Regions from separate parts of the Homo sapiens genome. Here region 1 is linked to region 2. Evidence: promoter capture Hi-C in human tissues and cell types (Jung and others, 2019). All regions are on one chromosome and are shown on one strand. The core of a region is centred on a gene start or on the middle of the fragment in contact, and the rest is flanking DNA. Distances in the headings are between cores, read along the strand shown.

What was found. The method cuts DNA at HindIII sites, captures the fragments that hold promoters and counts their contacts. A contact is called where the count stands out against the background at its distance.
Region 1: a contact is called between a fragment that was not itself captured here and the fragment with the promoter of KRTAP5-9 in region 2, in 3 of the 25 tissues and cell types used here (liver, lymphoblastoid cells and mesendoderm cells).

The regions. Positions count from the first base shown.
Region 1 is chr11:71,421,626-71,425,374 of GRCh38, reverse strand. It overlaps the pseudogene ACTE1P. Among named protein-coding and RNA genes, the nearest start is that of DHCR7, 25 kb to the left of the region's middle. RefSeq lists a silencer at 1,824-1,873. The HindIII fragment of the contact is 6,463 bases long and covers 1-3,749 here.
Region 2 is chr11:71,545,779-71,549,811 of GRCh38, reverse strand. It overlaps KRTAP5-9 (keratin associated protein 5-9), which reads right to left and starts at 1,392. Exons shown (of 1, transcript NM_005553.4): 1 at 204-1,392. The coding sequence starts at 1,154. The coding sequence ends at 645. RefSeq lists enhancers at 827-886, 429-973, 974-1,519. The HindIII fragment of the contact is 7,685 bases long and covers 1-2,880 here.

The DNA.
Region 1 (3,749 bases), core at 1,214-3,713, 130 kb after region 2:
TTCCTTTCTTTTTTTTATTTTTGAGATGGAGTCTTTCTCTGTCACCCAGGCTGGAATGCAATGGCACGATCTTGGCTCACTGCAACCTCCACCTCCCAGGTTCAGATGATTCTCCTGCCTCAGCCTCCCGAGTAGCTGGGACTACAGGTGCATGTCACCACACCCGGCTATTTTTTTTTTTTTTTGTATTTTTTAGTAGAGATGGAGTTTCACCATGTTGGCCAGGCTGGTCTCGAACTCCTGACCTCAGGTACTCTGCCCGCCTCATCCTCCGAAAGTGCTGGGATTATAGGCATGAGCCATGGCACCCGGCCACTCTTTCCTTCCTTTACGAGGCAGGATCTTGCTCCATTGCTTAGGCTGGAGTGCAGTGGTGTGATCATGGCTCACTGTAGCCTTGGCCTCAAACTCCTGGGCTCAAGGGATCCTCCCGCCTCAGCCTCCTGAGTAGCTTGGACTACAGGTGTGTGCCACCACACTCAGATAACTTTTTAATTTTTTGTAGAATCATGGTTTTGCTATATTGCCCAGGGTGGTCTTGAATTCCTGGCTTCAAGGGATTCTCCTACCTTGGCCTCCCAAAGTGCTGGGATTACAGAAGTGAACCACAGCACCCTGCCCACACTCATGCTTATAGCCTTCTGTCTCGTTTTTTTCTGATAGAATTCTAACAGTCCCAAAGCTCTGTCCTACAGACCCTTAGCACCTAGAGCAGCAAATTTGGAGGAAAAAGAGGGTTTCCCAGTTGAGTCCCAGTGATGACAGTCAACATCTGGTTGGCCATCACGTGATGTTCACGGAGGTGGCATTAGGAACTGGTCCCTGACATATGGAAGTGAGGATGTTAAAGTCCACTACTCCAGCAGGGTGTGGTGGCGGGCACCCATAGTCCCAGCTACTGGGGAGGCTGAGGCAGGAGAATCGCTTGAGGCCAGGAGTTTGTGTACGGCCTGGGCAACACAGCAAGATTCCATCTGAGATTTGTTTTCACGTGAACGACTCCACGGAGGCCCTCTGCGTTCACTTGCCGACTGGCAGAGACAGTGCCATCATGCCTCTCAGTCAGGCTTCAGCAGTCCTGACTACCTTCTGTTTGCACAGCCTCAACTGTCAGGTTGAAATGTGCGGCGTCTCCACGCTGAGCTGCCCCGTGTCCTTCTACAGCTGCCTATTGCTGTCGTTTCAGCCCAGGTAAATGTCCCGCCCATGTAAGTGAGCTGCACCTTCCTCTGCCCTTGCCTTGTCCCAGCCAGACGACCTGGACCCTCCTTCTGCCTGCTCCACACATGTGGCTACCTCTCCAGTATCCCCAGGATACCTCCCACGCCTCCCCTGCTCACAGCTGAGGGCAGGGATGCTCCATACTTCGAGCTCTCTTCAGCCTCCCAGTTTCTTGGCCATCCCGGCAAAAGTCTTAGGGCCGCTGTTGTCCTTGGTAGGACAGATCGCTGGAAGGTCACACACTCCAAAACAACCATAAGGATGGTGATAGATAAAGTAGAAACACGAGCATAAAAGCAAAAAGGTAATATTCTGGGGCTGCTGCTGCCAGGGACTGATGCCCACACAGGGCGGGGCCCCTAAGATCACGGCTGTGTTACAGCACATTGCCATTATTGCGCATGATGGTGGCCTGAGCTACCCAGAAGAGGCCACCTGACACCCAGCATCCCTGCTCAGGAAGGCAGGCAGTTTTGTAATGCCCTTTAGAGATCTTGGTGCATTTAAAAACATCCTGCTCTACTTAGTTTTTGTTAACCGGATTATTCAGTTATAGGGAATGATTCATTCTCTAATGAAAAGAGCAGAAGGGTTGTGGGTGGGTTGCATTATAGGTGATTTTCAAAGAGTTCTTTGTTTCAGTAGCTCTGGTTTGGCCTAGATGTTTTCACTGTTTAAGTCTTTCAGAATCTTTTTTTTTTTTAATTTTTAAATAGGAAGTGAGAACATCCCCGAGCAAGACCAACAATTGCTGAATAAACACAAACCCCCTTGAGAATCACGCCGACAGGTGCTATCTCTTCACCTGGGGATTGCAAAGGTGAGAGAGGAGGCCAGTGCCTCCCTGTGTCTGGAGAATCATATAGGGGTTGCTCTGGGAGTTTTAAGTTTCTCCTGAGTGAAAGTTAGTGGTTTTACATGTTCTCTTGATGCTACTTTTTACCTCTTCCTCCGGCTACTAAAAAAGCTTTCCTTGTAGGTGAAAATGGAACCGAATTAGTTCTGTGATCTTGTTCCATTCTAAAAGGGATTTGATTTTCCATTCATTCATCCCAAAACTGTTGCATACCTACTATGTGCCAGACTTTATTCTGGCCAGAAAAGATTCTTGATGTTACTGGAATTCAGTAATTTCTGTGGGCATGTGCTCAAAAGCAGGCTGCAAAGTCCTGGAGCCAGGGGTCCTGGCAGAACTCTTAGGAGAGGGATGGGTTTCTGTAACATGTCTGACACAGACCAGCAAGGCCACATTTAAACCAAGGCTGTGTGTGTGTGTTTTTTTAATTTAAATTTTAATTTTAAGTTCCTGGGTACATGTGCAGGACGTGCAGGTTTGTCACATAGGTAAACGTATGCCACGGTGATGTGTTGCACCTATCAACCCATCACCTTGTTATTAAGCCCCACGTGCATTAGCTATTTATCCTGATGCTCTCCGTTCCCCCACCCCACCCCCTGACAGGCACCAGTGTGTGTTACTCCCCTCCTTGTGTCCATGTGTTCTCATTGTTCAGCTCTCACTGATAAGTGAGAACATGCAGTGCTTGGTTTTCTGTTCTTGTGTTAGTTTGCTGAGGATAATGGCTTCCAGCTCCATCCATGTCCCTGCAAAGGACATAATCTCATTCCTTTTCATGGCTGCATAGTATTCCATGGTGTATATGCACCAGATTTTCTTTATCCAGGTATGTTTATTAAGGGGAAGGCCCAACCATGCATTGTGTGCGGCCACCTGGTGAATGAAAAGCAGGTTGGTATTTTCTTCCAAATACACATATGTATATATAGGTATATATATATTTACATGGGTAAATTGCATGTCGCAGGGGCTTGGGGTACAGATTATTTCATCATCCAGGTAATAAGCATAGTACTTGATAGGTAGTTTTTTGATCCTCACCCTCCTCCCGTCCTCCACCCTCAAGGGGGCCCCACCCTTTATTGTTCCCCTCTTTGTGTCCATGTGTACTCAATGCTTAGCTGTCTCTTATAACTGAGAACATGTGGTATTTGGCTTTCTGTTCCTGCATATATATATATACACATTATATATATATATATATATATATATATACATTTTATATATATATATACATTATATATATATATACACATTATATATATATATATATGTGTGTGTGTGTGTGTGTGTGTGTGTGTGTGTGTGTGTGTTTCAGTAGCTCTGGTTTGGCCTAAATGTTTTCACTGTTTAAGTCTTTCAGAATCTTTTTTTTTAAATTTTTAAATAGGAAGTGAGAACATCCCCGAGCAAGACCAAAAATTGCTGAATAAACACAAACCCCCTTGAGAATCACGCCAAGAGGTGCTGCCTCTTCACCTGGGGATTGCAAAGGTGAGAGGGGAGACGAGTGCCTCCCGGTGTCTGGAGAATCATATGCGGGTGTGCTGCCTTTGGAGCACAAATATATATATATACATATTTGAAATTCACAAACGTTTGCATTTCTCGCCAGCGACACAAGCCGGCTACCACTGCTGAAAGTGAGGCGGCCTCCAGTCAAGGTCTA
Region 2 (4,033 bases), core at 143-2,642:
TCATTCCTCGTCTTCATTCATTCATACATACTGCTAGTGGTTCCTTCATTAATCAGTTCAACAACTGTTTCTGGAATGGGAGCTGGGCCTGGCACACTGTTACAGCAGTGGGAGCAATAAGCTATCAGGGAGGAGGGGAAGGACATGTGGCCAGTTTGCCAATGAGACAGAGGCTGGAAGAAAAGAGTCAGTGAGACCAAGGCTGAGGGATGGAGAATTTATTTAGTGCTGCACCCAGATGCATTTTGGATTTCCATAGATACATGTGATCATTTGGGTTGCAGGACATCCATCTGCAAATGTCGTGAAGCTCCTGGCAGGCAAAGGAAAGAAGGGTTTGCTGTCTCCCATGGAATTATCAAGAAGGGGAATTCCAGGCTCTTGCTTGGCATGAGGGCAGCCCCCAGTGCAGTTTGGCTCAGACATATGGGGGCATGTGGGAAAGAGGGGCAAAATTGCCTGGGTCTTGGGATATTCTTATAGGGAATGGGCAGGGAGTGGTTCATTCCATTTCCTCAGGGGCTGGAAAAAGACGCCCTGAGCCAAGGGCTCTTTTCAGATCCAGAAGGGGATGTGCTTCAAGGGTAGTCACTTGTTGGAAAGCACAGATCTTCAGGAGCTACCTGAGGTTTCCCACTAGAGCCTCAGATCTTGCACTGGTAGCACACAGGGACACAGCATCTGGACTGGGAGCAGCAGGGCTTGCAGCAGCTGGACTGGCAGCAGGATGACCCACAGCCTGAGGATGAGCAGCAGGGCTTGCAGCAGCTGGATTGGCAGCAGGATGACCCACGACCCGAGGAGGAGCAACAGGGCTTACAGCAGCTGCACTGGGAGCAGTAGGGCTTGCAGCAGCTGCACTGGCAGCAGGATGACCCACAGCCTGAAGAGCAACAGCAGGGCTTGCAGCAACTGCACTGGGAGCAGCCACAAGAACCACAGCCTCCCTTGGAGCCCCCACAGGAGCCACAGCCCCGCTTGCCACAGCTAGAGCAGGAACAGGCTGGAACACAGCAGCACACGGGCTTGCAGCAGTAGACGGGTGCACAGCAGCTGGGGCCACAGCCCCTGCAGCCAGAGCCACAGCTCCCACAGCTGGAGTCACAGCCTCCACAGCTGGAGCCACAGCCTCCGGAGCAGCCACAGCAGCCCATGGTTCTGGTGGATTGAGGGTGGAGCAGGTAGAGGAGCAGGTGAGAAGGAGGTGCAGGTGTGGAGCCCCCTGAGCCCCGGCTCTTTATATCCCACATAGGAACACACCATTGTTTCTCTTTCCGGTTGCTGTTACACAGCTCCTGGAGGTATGTCTTGATTGTTTTTCTTTGGCTATGTTGATATTTTCTGGATCCAAGTATGAGCCCTTCCTCCTGAGATGATTTCCTTGTGGAATTCATACTGAAAGGAAAAACAGCTCCAACGCTGGCTCACCTCAGGAGGAAGTGCAGCTTCCTCAAGGTCTGTCCCAGTTCCTAACTCTTATTCTTCCTGGGCCTTTGAGCAGATCCAGTCAGCTCCCGAGCCCCAGCTTCTTCTCCTGCAGAGGGGTGCTAGCAACACCAGCCTCCGGGGGTTGCCTGAGAATTACCTGAGATCATTCATGTATTGCGTCTTTTGCAACACCCCAACTCCCCATCCCCCATGCTCATGCAGGGTTCCGTCTTGGCAGGACTGGGTCAATGTTGTGGGTTTTTGACGTTTGATGCTGTGAGACGCCCTCCCTCCCCAGAGCAGTGCCACTCTCTACCTGATTCCTGCTGATTCCCCCAGGGATGTGGTATCTTCTCTGTGGCAACTGTGGCTGAGGATGGCAGGGTTCTCAGCAGTGGGGAAGGAGGCATCCTCTGTCTACCTCCTCCCTATTCCTGGACCAGGAATAGGCCAGGGCAATGGGCTCTGTGATTACAGAAGGGAATTTCACACAGCATGGTCCTTGGGGACACGTGAGCAGAGCTTCCCGCTGCTTTGAAACTATTGTCTGGACAGGTTCTTCTCTTGGAGGAAAACAAAGCTTGGAGCAGAACTTGGAGGGTGGTAGGGGGACCATGATGGGTACAAAGAGCAGCCAAGAGACAGGAAGGATACTCCAGCTAGGAGGCAGGGCACCAGCAATGGTGTGGAGGCTGCAGGTGCAGGAACCCATCGGTACGGTCCACACTCAGATGCGGTTAAAATGTGTGATGAGTGGATGTGCAGGCTTACGACATTCCAGTGTGCCTCAGCTGACTTGGGGTGAAATCCAAACCCCTGACACTGGCCCCATCCACCTCTCCAGCTGGATTTGACCGTGGCCTTGGCCACCCATCGTTGCAGAACCAATCAGCCCAAAGCTCAGTGGATCAGTAGTTCAGATCCGGCACTGGATGGTGGCACAGGCCGCATGATTTGTGGGGTCTCAATTGGGAAGGTACCAATGGCTAACGATGGCAGCATGGCTTGGCTGGGCTGTATTTTGGGACCTCAGTTCCGGCTGTCTGCAGGGTTCCTTGGTTTTTCTGTAAATTATGTCAGCTGGGGCTGGCTTGTCCAAGATGCTGTGTTCACACACCTATGGGATGGCTACAACAGGTGAGGCCGGACAGATCTCCCTCCCCTCCCCCACCTCACGGCCTCTTCCCACGGCTGGCTTGGGCTTCCTCACAGCATGGTGGGCTCAGGGCAGCTGTACTTCCTAGGAGGTCACTCGAGCAGAGGCTAGAAGGTGCCTTATGACCCAGCCTAGGAATCCTAGAGTATTTCTCCCTCCTCAAGTCACTGAGGCCAGCCCAGATTGCAGAGAGAAGAGAAAGTCCACCTCTCCGTGGGAGGAGAATGACTTGGTGTCATCTTCAGACTGCCTCAATCATTCTTCATCCAGCCCTGGATTGGTGCCGGGGCCACACCGCACTCCTCCTTACGACCTGTGTGCTGGCAGTTCCTTACATGGAACAGACTCACCCAGGACCGCCCTGGACTGCGTCCCTCCTGTCTGCCCAACTCAGATCCACCTCTGACACCCCGTCCCGAGATAGCTACCCCCACCACCTTGCACTTTCTGTTTCATTTATTGATTCCCACGATGCCAAGCTGGCTCTGCTCTCATCCTTGTTTGTTCTTAGAGGTGTGTGTCCCACTCCAGGGGGGTGTGAGTTCTGAAGGGGCAGCGACTTTATCCCACACGCAGCCATGTAGCTGTGTCACCAACACCTGGACATGCTCCATCATCGTCATTGAGAGAGGGAGGTGTTAACTGAAGAAGGACGAGGTCGTCAATTTGGAAAGGAGCGCTTTACTTCTCATAAAGTGCTGCGGGCTGAGTGTGGCTGTTCTGACTGGTTGGGAGGCGCAGCCTCTGGTAGGAAGCTGGAAACAGACACTTGGAGGGAGGGAAGAATAAAGCAGAGATCTACACTGAGTGGGGGTGGCTGAATATGCATATTCAATAAGCTGTGGGAGGGACATGAATATTGATAAGAGGAGAAACTGAGACATGAGGCCAGCTGGACTTCTTGGGTCCCGTGGGGACTTGGGGAACTTTTCTGTCTTACAAGAGGATTGTAAAATGCACCAATCAGGAACTTTCCTGTCTTGCAAGAGGATTGTAAAACACACCAATCTGCACAGGATTCTGAAAGTAGCCAATCGCAGGGAGGATTGAAAAAAAGGCACTCTGATAGGACAGAAACGGAACATGGGCGGGGCCAATAGGGGAATAAAAGCTGGCCACACAGCCAGCAGCGGCAACCCACTCGGGTCTACTTCCACGCTGTGGAAGCTTTGTCCTTTCGCGAATAAACAATAAACCTTGCTGCCACTGACTCTTTGGGTCTGTGCCATCTTTAAGAGCTGTAACACTCACTGCGAAGGTCCGTGAAAGTCCATGGGTGCATTCTTGAAGTCAGCGAGACCACGAACCCACCAGCAGGAACCAACTGCAGACCCAAAACCAGGCATATGCGCAATCCAGCTTCACCCCCTCTCTATGTGCAAAAACCAGAGGTGTTAGCCTGATCTGAGGGTGGAGCTTTTGGCCCTCTGATGTCAAAAGGTGAAGCAG